Linked DNA regions of Homo sapiens: all the other regions are linked to region 4. Evidence: promoter capture Hi-C in 16 types of primary human blood cells and fetal thymus (Javierre and others, 2016). All regions are on one chromosome and are shown on one strand. The core of a region is centred on a gene start or on the middle of the fragment in contact, and the rest is flanking DNA. Distances in the headings are between cores, read along the strand shown.

The links. Contacts are between HindIII fragments. The CHiCAGO score rates a contact against its expected background, and 5 or more counts as called.
Region 1: a fragment that was not itself captured here is called in contact with the fragment with the promoter of LNPEP in region 4 in 1 of 17 cell types (naive CD8 T cells); the score reaches 5.4 in naive CD8 T cells.
Region 2: a fragment that was not itself captured here is called in contact with the fragment with the promoter of LNPEP in region 4 in 5 of 17 cell types (naive CD8 T cells, M0 macrophages, naive B cells and 2 more); the score reaches 5.9 in naive CD8 T cells.
Region 3: a fragment that was not itself captured here is called in contact with the fragment with the promoter of LNPEP in region 4 in 1 of 17 cell types (erythroblasts); the score reaches 6.7 in erythroblasts.
Region 5: a fragment that was not itself captured here is called in contact with the fragment with the promoter of LNPEP in region 4 in 1 of 17 cell types (total CD8 T cells); the score reaches 5.4 in total CD8 T cells.

What each region holds. Positions count from the first base shown.
Region 1 is chr5:96,723,628-96,726,373 of GRCh38, reverse strand. The region is part of intron 4 of CAST (calpastatin); the gene reads right to left. Among named protein-coding and RNA genes, the nearest start is that of CAST, 63 kb to the right of the region's middle. The HindIII fragment of the contact is 1,763 bases long and covers 451-2,213 here.
Region 2 is chr5:96,780,081-96,782,780 of GRCh38, reverse strand. It overlaps ERAP1 (endoplasmic reticulum aminopeptidase 1), which reads left to right. Exons shown (of 19, transcript NM_001040458.3): 16 at 927-1,088; 17 at 1,583-1,723; 18 at 2,277-2,358. Among named protein-coding and RNA genes, the nearest start is that of ERAP1, 27 kb to the left of the region's middle. RefSeq lists an enhancer at 1,210-2,409. The HindIII fragment of the contact is 517 bases long and covers 1,083-1,599 here.
Region 3 is chr5:96,741,794-96,744,493 of GRCh38, reverse strand. It overlaps CAST (calpastatin), which reads right to left. Exons shown (of 32, transcript NM_001750.7): 16 at 1,738-1,839. Among named protein-coding and RNA genes, the nearest start is that of ERAP1, 65 kb to the left of the region's middle. The HindIII fragment of the contact is 523 bases long and covers 1,189-1,711 here.
Region 4 is chr5:96,934,820-96,937,519 of GRCh38, reverse strand. LNPEP (leucyl and cystinyl aminopeptidase) reads right to left here and starts at 1,440. Exons shown (of 18, transcript NM_005575.3): 1 at 1,346-1,440. The coding sequence starts at 1,364. LOC124901030 reads left to right here and starts at 1,445. Exons shown (of 1, transcript XM_047417984.1): 1 at 1,445-2,700. The coding sequence starts at 1,445. The coding sequence ends at 2,149. It also overlaps a transcript of ERAP1 not described here. RefSeq lists silencers at 907-986, 1,117-1,186, 2,127-2,196, 2,637-2,700 and enhancers at 1,777-2,086, 2,387-2,526. The HindIII fragment of the contact is 7,112 bases long and covers 1-2,700 here.
Region 5 is chr5:96,763,612-96,766,311 of GRCh38, reverse strand. It overlaps CAST (calpastatin), which reads right to left. Exons shown (of 32, transcript NM_001750.7): 26 at 987-1,091; 27 at 167-259. It also overlaps a transcript of ERAP1 not described here. Among named protein-coding and RNA genes, the nearest start is that of ERAP1, 43 kb to the left of the region's middle. The HindIII fragment of the contact is 2,207 bases long and covers 232-2,438 here.

The sequences.
Region 1 (2,746 bases), core at 83-2,582, 210 kb after region 4:
GCACATCACAGTCCTGTATGCAGAGATCGAATTTAAAGTTCTAGAAATGCTTCTACAGAACTGGTTGTAACTTAGCATCTTTAGTATGATATTTTACAGTTTTATCCAACTAAACATTACTTGTGCAAAAACAAGTAAGTACATGCATGCATTCTCAATATAGGCAAGATATACAATCATGAATAAAACTTGATTAAACATTTCATGAACTTTTCAGTCAGAGATTACAAACTAGGGTCCGATGCTTCCTGCTGTTTCTTTCCTTTTTATCTGCTTGGTAGTATCAGCACAAACTAGTGGTTTTTATTTATTTATTTTTATTTGAAGAGGCTAAAGTCAATTATCCTCTTAATTTATCATGTCTTCTACTTCAGTAATGAAGACACATACTTTCTTCAAATAATGGCCCCTTGCTAGGCTAACACACTATTTTGGGAAGGAAACAAAGCTTATGATTGAAATGTTTTTAAAGAAATTTTAAATTTTGGATCCTTTCACACTACATTCTCATTAATGAGTTTCTATTTATGGAACTATCCTTTCAGTTTATGCAAATATAATTTATTAAATGATTAACAAGGAAAATAAGCCAGCTGGTAGTATAGTGCTTTGAATCTATTAATAGCTTGCAATTTGGCAATCAAGATTTTGCATGGGAGAACCTACACTACAATTAAGAATGTATGCTCACAGACACAAGCAGCTTATAATGCAATCTATATTTAAATCAGTAATTGCTGAATTTATTTTTGTAGTGATTGTGCTGAATATAATAATGATGACCATAATAACTAATGTGTATTAATCACCTCTCATGTGTCAACCCACTTTATCTTCATAATAATCCTATGAGACAAGTATTATTATACCCATTTCACAGATGAGAAATTGAGTTTAGAGCAGTTAAATAACTCCCTAAAGACATCCATGGTGGACCTGAGGTTGTGTGTTCTAGTCATCGCACTGCACTCTCTCCCCAGTAGTGGCCAACAGACAATCCCATCTGGACACTTGCTTAGGACAGGAATTGTCCAATATACATTATGTTTCCTTACACAGTCTTGTGAGGCAGGTACTATTATCACCTTCCTCCAAACTGTACAGATAAGGAAACCAAAGCAAAAAGAGATTGTCCAATATCACAGCTGATATGGAACCAGGTTCCAGGGAAAGAGACTTGAGGCCAAAAGTGGTCCCTAGTTAGCCACTGGGGACACTTCATTACGTGCATCTTATTTTTGTCTCTCCCCCTCTTCTCTCTCCTACTTTCCTCCAGTTTCACAGGACTGCCGAGAATTCTCATGATTAATGCTTAGAGAAGGGTGAAGAGTTTGCTGACATTTGTTCTAGGTAACAGGCCACGCTTGAAATAAACATTGGTCCTTGAGCTGAGGCACAGGGGATTAGAATCAGGCAACAGGATGAAAAAGAACCAAAAGAATAAAAAGGAAATCCTATATTTCTGGCTCTCTTTCCTATCTCTTTTCTTTGGTTTTCATGATCTCTAAATTCAATGAGATTATTTATTTATTTATTTATTTATTTATTTTTGAGACAGGGTCTTGCTCTGTCACCTGGGCTGGAGTGCAGTGGTGCAATCACAGCTTGCTGCAGCCTTGATCTCCTGGGCTCAAGCCATCCTCCTGCCTCAGCCTCCCGAGTAGCTGAGACTACAGGAGTAAACCACCACACCTGGCTAATTTTTTGTAGACACGGGATCTCGCTATGTTGCCCAGGCTGGTCCCAAACTCCTGGGCTCAAGCGATCCTCCCACCTTGACCTCTCAAAATGCTGGGATTATAGGTGTGGGCCACTATGCCTGGTCTTAATGAGAACTTTTATTTTGTAGATGCTTCTGGAATATTTTTTAAAATTAGGATTTTTAATTTTAGGCTGGACACAGTGGCTCATGCCTGTAATCCCAGCACTTTGGGAGGCTGAGATGGGAGGACTGCTTGAGCCCAGGAGTTTGAGACCAGCCTGAGTAACATAGCAAGACCCCTGTCTCTACAGAAAAACAGAAATATTAGCCAGGCATGGTGGTGTGCCCCTAGAGTTCCAGCTACTCAGGAGACTGAGGTAGGAGGATCACTTGCATCCAGGAGGTCAAGGTGGCAGCAAGCTGTGATCATGCCACTACATCCAGCCTGGAAGACAGAGCGAGACCCTGCCTCAAGGAAAAAAAAAGATTTTTAATTTTTTAAGATTAAGCTTAACATAATTAAATAGAGACAGCTAACATTAATTATAGATTATATAATGTATATTTTGAAAGCAATTTAGAAATCAATGTAAATTTAAATACTAAATTTAAAAACTGATAATTTTAGATTAAAATTTTAAATGAATGCTAAATGACATAAGAACTTAGATGTGGATAGTGTATTTCTAGATATTTGTAATGTTCTTTGAAGATGATTCAAGATGAGGCCATATAATCCTTTGATAGTACTAAGTTATAGTGCCACATCACCTGGGATAGGAAACTACAGGGATAGCATAGTAATATGAAAGACAGAAAACAAAAGTAGGTTGGTAATTTTAAACAAGGGCAATTTAATAATAATGGAGTTGGGGTAGCTCTTAAAGGTATTAAAGAATATTGGCACACAAACATTAGTTGAGAGAATTTTGAAAATGCTCCCTCTTTAATTCCCTCCCCTGAAATATTCCCAAGAGATACAGCTTGAGCTAGAGTAACTTAGGGAGAGGGTTTAAAAGGCAGCTGCAGCCAGCTCTTCAGAAC
Region 2 (2,700 bases), core at 92-2,591, 150 kb after region 4:
TTAAACGGTGACAGCCATGCCATAGAGAAACACATGCATTGTATTTTATAGTAGTTTCTTTGGGCTTCCAAATTCCCTGACAGGGATGCATAGTAATTGCTGACACTGTCTAAGCAAGGTAGGATTTTACCGTATCTGGAAATCCCTATTCTTGCTACACTTCAGTCCTTTTTACATTTGGAGCTTAAACCCCACCCAGGAAACATTTATGCCAACAACCTACATGCTTCAGCTTAAAGAAATCCAAACAGTGGTCCTACTGCCGTCCTGACTTGTGATCATGGTGTAAATTTTGAATATAGTTTGAATTTCTTTTGGCTTGAAAGGTGATCCCCTATGGAGTCACCCAGCATCATTAAAGTATTTAAATATGTAGGTATTTATAAAAATGGCATTTCACATTTTTGAGAAGGCTACTTAAAACCTAATTTTAGATATTTTTCTCTTGCCTTTTTTTTATAAAGTGTAACTAGGCCAGGCGCGGTGGCTCACGCCTGTAATCCCAGCACTTTGGGAGGCTGAGGTGGGTGGATCACGAGGTCAGGGGATCAAGACCATCCTGGCTAAGACGGTGAAACCCCGTCTCTACTAAAATACAAAAAATGAGCCGGGCATGGTGGCGGGCGCCTGTAGTCCCAGCTACTCGGGAGGCTGAGGTAGGAGAATGGCGTGAACCCGGGAGGGCGGAGCTTGCAGGAACCGATATCGAGCCACGGCACTCCAGCCTGGGTGACAGAGCAAGACTCCGTCCTAAAAAAAAAAAAAAAAAAAATTGTAACTGAAGGAAATCAGTAGTTTTTGTTTATATTTCCAGGCATGCTTCTCTGATCATGGGGAAAGTTCAGCAGTTCATAGTTAGTCACCATTATGCCTCTAAACATACTTACTGCACCTCAGATTCTCACCGAGTGTGTTCCTTTCTATAGCCTGCCTGTCGACGTGACCTTGGCAGTGTTTGCTGTGGGGGCCCAGAGCACAGAAGGCTGGGATTTTCTTTATAGTAAATATCAGTTTTCTTTGTCCAGTACTGAGAAAAGCCAAATTGAATTTGCCCTCTGCAGAACCCAAAATAAGGAAAAGCTTCAATGGTGAGTCCGTCATTCATTCATGTTCATGTGGCCAAGGGAAATTAGATTAGATTAGATCATTCTGGCATCTATTTTTGTTTTCTTGGCCAGGAATTGCCTATCCTGCTGGGAACATACTGCAAGTCAGCACACATCTAATGAGAAAGGCAAATAATTAGGGAGAACCAGGTGTTAGGAAAAATATTTAAAGGTGTATACATTTGTGCATCTTTAAAATGACAACATATTAAAAATATTTACTAGAGCTACTCTTCCTTAACTATTCTTTTGAGCAAATGAGAGGGTATATGAGAATGGGTGTTATGAACACTATATAAATGTTAGTTTTTATTATGTAGCTATAGTGGGTTTATCAGGATTGTGGTTACCCATTTATCTTTTTAACCTTTGTTACTGGCAGACTTTTTTTTCTTTTACAAGTAATTTTATTGCAGTGATTCATAACTGTTTCATCACCTATTCATTGCTAACATTTCTTTTCTTAATCCTTCTAGGCTACTAGATGAAAGCTTTAAGGGAGATAAAATAAAAACTCAGGAGTTTCCACAAATTCTTACACTCATTGGCAGGAACCCAGTAGGATACCCACTGGCCTGGCAATTTCTGAGGAAAAACTGGAACAAACTTGTACAAAAGTAAGTGGTGCCAAAAATTGTGCTGTGACTGGATAAGTTCATAACCTTACTGTGTTTTAGCCTTGCTGTTTGTAAAAGAACAGTAACAGTCTAAAGGTACTTTTTGATTGAAGATAGGCAGTAGAAATACCTAAAATATTTGTAGAAAACATAAAACTGGACTTCAGTGCTAACTAGTGAATCTGGACAGGGATGTTTTCCATTCCATCTGGCATAACCCCTTCCTGAGCCCATGGACATATCTGAAGCCTTCCTCCTCACAGTTCAGCCCAGGCCTTCCATGAACACATTTGCTTGTTCACATCTGTCTTTGTCTAACTCTTATAGCATTTCCTGCTTCTGTCATTTTCTGTTGGATACTTAACCTTTTATTAGGCTGTTGGTGTGTATTATTCTTTACAGCTAGATCTTAACCCATTGGATAGACATCATATTTTGTATTTTTCACACCGATCAGTTTTTAGCTGAAAGCTATTATATATAGGAGGCCCTTAAAATATATGTTAAATGAATAAGTATTTCACAACCCGTTTTTGAATATTTCCCTCTCTAGGTTTGAACTTGGCTCATCTTCCATAGCCCACATGGTAATGGGTACAACAAATCAATTCTCCACAAGAACACGGCTTGAAGAGGTAAAAAAAAAAAATCTATATATATATTTTTAAACATAAATGAAAATTAGCTAATTAATATGGGGTAGACAAAATACTTTGAGGGTGTGGTGAGTTAGAAATGGATTGTCATTTAGAAGTTATTTTTGGATGCTATGGTGTTGACAGCAGCATAAATCAGTTGCAATTAAACTAGTGAAAACTGTGCCTCTTCTCAGACACGTTAAGAGGTCTTAGCTCTGCCAGTAAAAACCTTAGGACTTGAAGAAAATTACTTGAGACAATTAGTCCTTGTTTAAGGATGTTAAAAGTGGGCACTGAGGTATAAATGACTGAAGTGGTCATCCAGCTGTTGCTAAAGAG
Region 3 (2,700 bases), core at 201-2,700, 190 kb after region 4:
TTGAATCATGGGGGCGGAGCTCTCCTGTACTGTTCTCATGATAGTGAATAATTCTCACTAGATCTGATGGTTTTATAAAGGGGAGTTCCCCTGCACATGCTCTTTTACTTTCCTCCATGTAAGACGTGACTTTGCTCCTCATTCACTTTCCACCGTAATTATGAGGCCTCCCTAGCCATGAGGAACTGTGAGTCAATTAAACTTCTTTCCTTTATACATTACCCAGTCTCTGGTATGTCTTTATTAGCAGCATGAGAACAGACTAATACAACTATTATGTCATAAGAGTGGAAAAGAGGAGTTCTTTTTGCTGGAATTTTAGTTTGCTGCGACTCTGAAGTTTTCTAGAGGGAACTTAATACATTCATATGCATTCCCAAACTAGTTACCCACATGTTTAAATAACTTATTTTATGTCACTTTTTTTCTTAACATCTGCTTATCTGCTTTTAGTCACTTTTAAGACTCCTTTGATCCTGAGGTTTATGACATGTTTATACCCTCCCTTCCCACATTAATTGTCTCTCCTTAAGTGTCTGTAAGAAGCTTGGGGCAGAAGTGCAATATACTTGTGGCCCTGTCGCCCTCAGGTGGTAAAGCCACAACTCAGCTTGGCCTCCTGACTCCCCCCAGGATTCTGCCAACACCCCGCTTTCCTCAAGATGACACTGCTTCTGTCGGCTACTCTAAGTAATGTATATCTCACATTGTGTTGTAATCAAGTTTCCCTTCTTCCCAATACATTACTTGGTCCTGGAAGATACGAACTGCTTCTCTTGCTCCTCTGCGTTCACCGTCACAAAGCTTATCGTGCCACACTGTGGCCGGTGAGCCCTCCAAGAAAGTCGAAGATAGAAACTGGCCCATCTTAGGCCAGGGCAGTCCCAGACTCAAGGATTGTTGCTGGAAGTCAGGGAGACTCCCCTTCCCTGATGACTCAGAACAGGAAGTGACAGCAGAGATGGGGCATTGTGACAGCAATGCCTGCCAGCACCCCCAGCCTGAGCTGATGGAGGTGGGGCGGGCTCCTGGGGATCCCAGGCTACCTTTCCATCTCCCCACAACACTGCCTTGTCAGGAACCGGCAACTCTCTCCTTTCCTTCCTCTTTCACCCCAGAGGACTGAGTTGAAAAATTCCACAAAAATTATAATTTAATATTAAAACTTTCGTACACCAGATGTAAGCTTGTTTTGGTTCAGAAGGCTTGTTAAGATCTTGGAGTGTGGCGGGATAAACACTCATCAGCATTATTCTATAAATATGCAGGAGCTCTAGTTAGGGTAATTGTTGCTTGATTTTAATTTGAGACAAAATTTTCAACATCTTTCCCCATAGTGATAAATGAAGGATCTTCCCACTCCGTGTATAGACATCTCCTTCTCTTATAAACAGAAGCACCCAGAACCCTTCTGAAAATACAAATTTCCAATTGCCAAACTTCACTATTTCCCACCAGGCATTGCCTCCTTGTTACCTTGTTTAGTCAAGGGTCATTTAAGCTCTAGCAAGGGAGATTCGTGTTCATTTCAAATGTTAAAATTCTAGCTGTTTCACAAGTCAGTCATGTAACTATCCCCCTTAGTTGCTAACCACTCAGCAATAAATAAGGCACAATGAAGAATGCTCACTTTTACTCTCCAATAAAAGTTGTGCGAGAATTCTAAACATGCAGAGTGCATTCGGTTTTGTAATGTGCAGACTAACAAGCTTTGTAAATCAACTCTAAGGTCAGTACCTCATCGACTTCCTTAATTGAGCGGAGGTCGAGCTCAGGTTCTGCTTGCCGGGTGCCCAGTGAAGCCGACAGAGCCTCGAGTGCTTGATCACTCATTGTATCCTGTTAAAAGTAAAAAATCCTGTGCATGAAAAAAGACATCTCTGGAGCCCGAACAATCCATTTACTTCTTTGTAAAATACATTTTAGATTATAAACTGAATATGGATTGGGGAAGTGCTCTAGAAAGGCAATTTTATTTGAAACCTTGCAAAAGAGAGAAAGGAAAAAGAACTTACCAATGAGTGGAAATTGGGGCTAAGACACGTTTCTACAGTAACAGCGTTCTCTGGGGCACACTTCACCCCTTATTTGGTAAGCTAGACATAAAGCTATAGTAATATTACTATAAAATACTCTAAACAAACAAAAAAAAAAGAAGCAAGTAGTAAACTGTTACCACACTATTTTTCTTTTTCTAAAAATGTATCTCTAAAAAGGCTTCTGACAACCTAAGCTTAGGAAGCAGGGAAGCTTGAAGTGGCCCCTGCTGCCTTCTTCTCTGAAGGCACAATGGCTGATCGTTGTAGGAACTCCCACTCTCAGGGGTGTGGTACTCACCACTGTTCCCCAGCCTGCCAGATAAAAATAAACTGTCCACTCCAGGAGGGGAGAGGCACAAGCTGCTCTGATAGAAACCGTTCCTGAGCATTATCTTGACTGTTTGCAGAGGAGACATGTGTTCCCAGCCAGCACAGAGCTGCAGGATTGCCTTTTGCGATTTGTGAGAATTATGTCATAGTGAAATATAGTTGAGAATGCTGGGCAGTACCAGCTACTTGGTGTCCCTCTAGTGATCCTCAGGGCTCAAAGTCCTTTATACAATCAAACTTGAAGGTTTTATGTTCCAAGAGTGCAATTTCTCTGGTTTCTGCCCTTCTGTGTATCATAATGGTGAGATGGTCTTAGATGATGACTGAGACA
Region 4 (2,700 bases), core at 191-2,690:
TCTAGTTCATTTTAGCTCAAACCTTCCTTAATTCTTCGAGTAACTTCACCAGACTATTCTTTAAGTCTTAGTAATTACAAATAGAACCTGAATGAGAAAGAAAATTCAGAATTAAAGTTGTTATCAGTAAGCCTAATTAAACAGTGCAGACAGAAAGATGGCAGTAGAATAAAGCATTCTACATTAGGAATAGGGAGAATATAATCAGTAGTTCACAGCCCCATGAATGAAGCACAGCATACAACAAAGTCTGGCTGGGATTTGGGATAAAGTGGACAATATCTGTCTGCTCTTGAGTGGTAACTAACAAACTAAACAGGGATATAGACTGTGGCCCCTATTAATGTGATACTGTACCTGAAGTAACCAACCACACTCAGCAAAACATGTCAACCAGAGACTGAATCCTCTTTTAGTGAGTCGTCTCCCTTACTGGCAGTTTTCCTACTTTCTATCTTAAAAGGGAATCCACACACTCAACACCGCAAAACGGTAAGACATCTCACCCCTATATTGTGGCTCTGGCACTTCTGGTCCGCACAAAAGCCATGGTTCTAACTAGGGTGGGATTTATGCTCCCCGTTCAGTGAAGGGCTGTGGCTGTTTGCAGGGTGCAGGCTCCCTGCGTTGACTCTCGCTTCCTGTCACACAGTGGTATCACCACCGTGACGGACCCTTGACATTAACAAGTCTTTGACTGAAAAACTGATGTGATCTGCAGCCAGTGAGGGGATGCGTGGTGGCCCTGCCGAGTACCTCGGCAGGGTCAGGAGGGTGGCACTGTGGCCAGGCACCTCCGCGGCACCGAGCGAGGTGAGCAAGCCTTTCCTGAAGTTTCCCTTCCTTCCACAACATTAACCTGCCAAGCCTCCCACCCCCACCCCGCCCTATTAGGAAAAGTCACGCCGGCAGCTCACTGAAGGGCAGGGGGACAGCTCCTGGCGCCCCACAAAAGTTGGGCTCGGCAGCTGCCACAACTTAACGCTCCTACAGGAGAGTCGGGCCGACACCGCCTCCTCCGGGGGCAAACCTGAGCTGCCAACTTTCCCACTGCCCACTCCTCTGCGCACAGCAGCCCAAACTTTGCTGTTTGCCCACCGGCCGCACCCCGGGCGAGCGGCGGCGGCGCTGACCTTCAAGCCAGCCCCGGGTCCCGCACTGGCCGCCGCCCGCCCCCCGAACCTCCCTGCCTCCCCCAGATCCCCTCTCCCTGCCTCCCTCAGCCCTCGTGGGAAGCCCGCGGTGTTGGGGGAGACGGCTGCAGCCCGACCCCGCGTGTCACGACTGCCCACGACCCTCAGGGCTCCGGAGAGCCCGGGTCCCGGCGCCTCGGCAGCCCACTCACCATTGGTGAAGGGCTCCATTTTCCCCCCGCCGCGGCTCCTTACAGCCGGAGCGCCCGAGCTTCCTACTCCGAGAGCTGAGGCGGCCCAGCTGACTGAGCATGCCCAGCGCGGCCTCCAAGGGCTGCCAGGGAGGTGCCGCGAGGGGCGGCGCCGCTCCGCCGTTCCGGGTTTTCGTGGCAGCTGCAGAAAGAGCGAGGGAAGCAAGAGGGAAAAGCACAGTCAAACCCCCTGCTGCTCCGTGGACAGGCGAGGTGGGAGCGGGTTCGCGCTGGGGGCGGGGCCTAGGCGGGGCCGGGAAAGCCCAGCCCCTACCTGAAGTGGACCCGGCTGCGGCGCTCTCCCCGGCCGGGAACGGTGTTCAGTCACTCAACAAATGTGGAGCCCTACTGCGACCCGCCCGATCCCGGACGCCGAGACACCCGCACTGCGCCAGAAAATCATGGTCCCAGTCCCAGGAGCGGACATTCCAGAAACAGACCATAAATAAACACAGAAGACACACGAGTGTAAAGTCAGTGCCCCGCTGCGAATTAAATCGGGGTGATGTGATGGCGAGTGAGTGGGTAGTTAATTCGGATGGCTTGGTTAGACGAGGCCTCGCTGAGCAGGTGCCACTGAAGCCGAAGTCTGAAGGCAGAGCAGGAACCTGCGGGCGAAGGTCGCTATCTGAACCGCGAATCGCTGGTTTCCCTGGGGAGGTTGGCCGCGGAGGGATCACTGCTCGAAGGACCGAGGGAGCGGGCGCTGTAGGTGTTTTCGGCAGAGATGCCCGCCCGCATCAGAGTGCCTCAGGAGGGCGGTGAGGAGGAGACGGAAGAGAGGGCGGGGACCTCGCAGGGCCGAGGGCGCCCTGGGGTCCAGTCCCGGGGCTGGCGGCTGCCTTGCGGCCTCTAGGTGCGGGCGGATAACAAAACCCGGCGCCGGATCGCCCGGCCCGGGTCGCGGGCGCCGCAGGATGTGGGCAGAAGGCCCGCCTGTTCCGAGCCTTAAATCAACACCTGCGGTTCCCGGGGGTGCTACCACTGGGGCCCGCAGCAAGGCTCCGCGGCGCTAGGCCCGAGAAACCGAAACTCCCCTAGTCGCCCCTGCCCCCCAGCACTCGCGCCATTGCCTCCAGCCCCGAGCCACCATTGTTTCCAGTGCCAAATCGGGCAGCCCCGCTAGCCTCCGAGGCCGAACCGCCAGGGGCCCCATAAGCCCCGAGGAGGCTCGTCGGGAACCGCTTCCTTATCCTCTCGGTATGCGCATCGCCACCACCCTCGCTGCAGAGGCCGCCGCCCTCCCAGCGCGCCATCACCGCCTCCTCTGCCTCTTCCCCTCCCTCAGCCCCGGCCCCTGCATTGACTTGGCTCGG
Region 5 (2,700 bases), core at 86-2,585, 170 kb after region 4:
AATAAATATTTACCTGCTGGTCGGCTTTGGTGACACATTAGAAGCAGTCAGTCATGGTATGTTTTATGCTATTGTAAAGGAGTATAGCTACTATTTATTTCAAGGGAGGTTTGAATTTAAAGATCTTGGTAGCATAAATCCGATCTAGCAATTTGCCTCAGTTTACCTGTCCATTATCATCCAGGAGATGTCTGTATTCAGGTGGGATAGTGTCATCTCTTTCTCCAAGCTTGTCTCTATGTTCAGCTTTAGCTTTTTCCTATATCAACAGTGAGCAGATAGAATTAATATTCATTTCCTCTTTCACTTAGAAAATACATTGTCAAATGCAGCATTCAGCATTTGTTGTACTTTCATGAGGCAAAACATATGGTCTGTTTTTATTTTTTAAGCAACAGAACAACACAGATGACTTCAACAGACTGCTAGTTGGCTAAAATATAAAATCCCGTATGCTTCTGTATGTCAATTCATATCTGTGAATTTTCTAGCTATATTTTAAATGGAAATAAATGATTAAATAATTATCTTCAGAAACCATGTTAGGAGATTAGAACCCAAAGGTATAAAATATCTTTTTCTTTTTTTCTGTATGGTTTCACTTTTCTAATACAAAATCAGGCCACTGTACCTTGCCATTTAGAGAGGTCACATTTACAACTTTGCCTATTTATAAGCAACCCTGAAGGACAACAGCTAATTTGAATGGATGTGCTGACTGCTTGTGTTGCATGGGAGGAAGCCATGCATACCCCACACCTACCTCCCAGAATCCCCTCAGGGAGGCTCCGCTGGTATCTCTGTCACAGATTCAGTGACCTTCCCCTCCAGTGGAGTACAGATTGATTTTTCTATTTCATTATAATTTCATGTTTAAAATATAGGTTAAGTTCACATCAATATTCCTATGACAATGACAGAGTCAAGACCCAAGGATTAAAATTTCACTATTAGTGAATTTTTTTTTTTTTTTTTTTTTTTTTTACCTTTACTTTATCTTCCATTGGTTTGTTCTCATCTGGGTCAGGCTGCCTTTGTCCTAGACTGTCAGAGAGTTTATCCAAGGCATCATCGAGGTCTTTGTCACTCTGCTGAAAAGTAAATAATGCTGAATTAGTCACTCATTAGCCAAACTGTATCAGAGGCAAATTAGCCCAGGAACTCCATCTTTTCAGGAGGGAACCTGTTTCCTTGGAAGAAAAAGACATCTGGGGCTGGGGCAGGGGAGTAGACAGGGTCAGAGAAGAGAAGCCTAGGAATGGAAGATCAGGAGAAGAGCGGCAGTATCTGTCACCCTACTGGGGTTGGAGGGCCAGCACCTTCCACCCAACCCTGCCCATCTCTTGGTGAAGATCCCACCAGGTTAAGGAGGTCTTAGTGGCAGCCTCAGGAGCCATATCCAGTGGGTGACCTGGAGGTCACATAAAGGGTCCAAAAGCAAATGAACCAATCATGTGTGCCTTTCATTTAGAAATTAAACACCATTAGAAAACTGGATATGAAAACAAACATCTACTAATGTTGTCAGATGGTTAGGAAGCAAGATTCTGCAACTATAGAGGGTAAGTGTTTCTTTGGTTCTGTGGGTCCTCTCTAAAACTCTAAGATCTTGAGGGGTGCATTTCAGAAAGTGCAGCGTGACCCGCAGTTTGTGGGAAGCCATGGAGCTCGGCACTGCCATCCTAATACTTCCTAAAGCACAAAACCCCAGAGACAATCTGGGGTCAGGAGAGTGGAAGGGGCTTGTCTGCCACACTGGTGATGAGTGCCCTGAAAGACTTCAGAGAATTTCTGAACTGGTGGGGAAACCTCTCTTTTCATCTTCAGGAAGCTCATGGAAGTGAAATTGCAGAAATGGGAGCTGGTATTCTAGAGGAAAAAAATTATGGACAACAATATCACTGTAACTAAGATAGCTTATTTCCTCTAACATTTATTTACTGTATGATTCAGGCAGCTTATTTAACCCCTTTCAGCTTCAGTTTCCTTGGCCGTGAAATGTGAATAATAGTAGTACTTATACTCCTAAGTTGCTGAGAAAAGTAAATGATTGAAAAGGCATTTAAAACAATACTAGTTGTATGTTAGGACCCAACAAATGGTAAATTATTATTAGTATTATTATAGCAAAATCCATATTTTTCAACACATTGCATTCAAAATTCCACCTCTAAATGAATTCAATTAAAATGTGTTTAATATCTACATTGTATAAGACACCATGCTGAACTCTGTCCAATACTGTATAGAACTTTCCAGTTGATTTTCAAAATGTTTTCACATACACTATCCAGTTTTATTTGATGCCCACAATGGTTCTCAGTGAACTAAGCAGGCTTTTTTTTTTTGAGGTAAAAAGCTCAGGGAAGCTAAGTCAGTTGCTTGAAAACAAATTGTTAAAAAGTGAATAGAACCCAGGTCTTGGGACTGATAAAGCTTTTCCCTGTCATGCTTAGTCACATCCATGATCTTCTATTTTCTTTGAAGCAGTTTTCCTGTTGGAGTGATTTTATTACACAGATCTTTGAAATCATGTCTTCAAATGCTTTCAGTGTATGTAACACTGTTAGTAACAATCTAATAATCACAGCAAAGAAAGCTCCCGTGAATTATCATGGTTTATTTGACTCTTCGATTTCCTAATATTTTTATCTAAATAAAGCTTTATACCTTGTTTTAGTGACATCTTCAAATAAAATG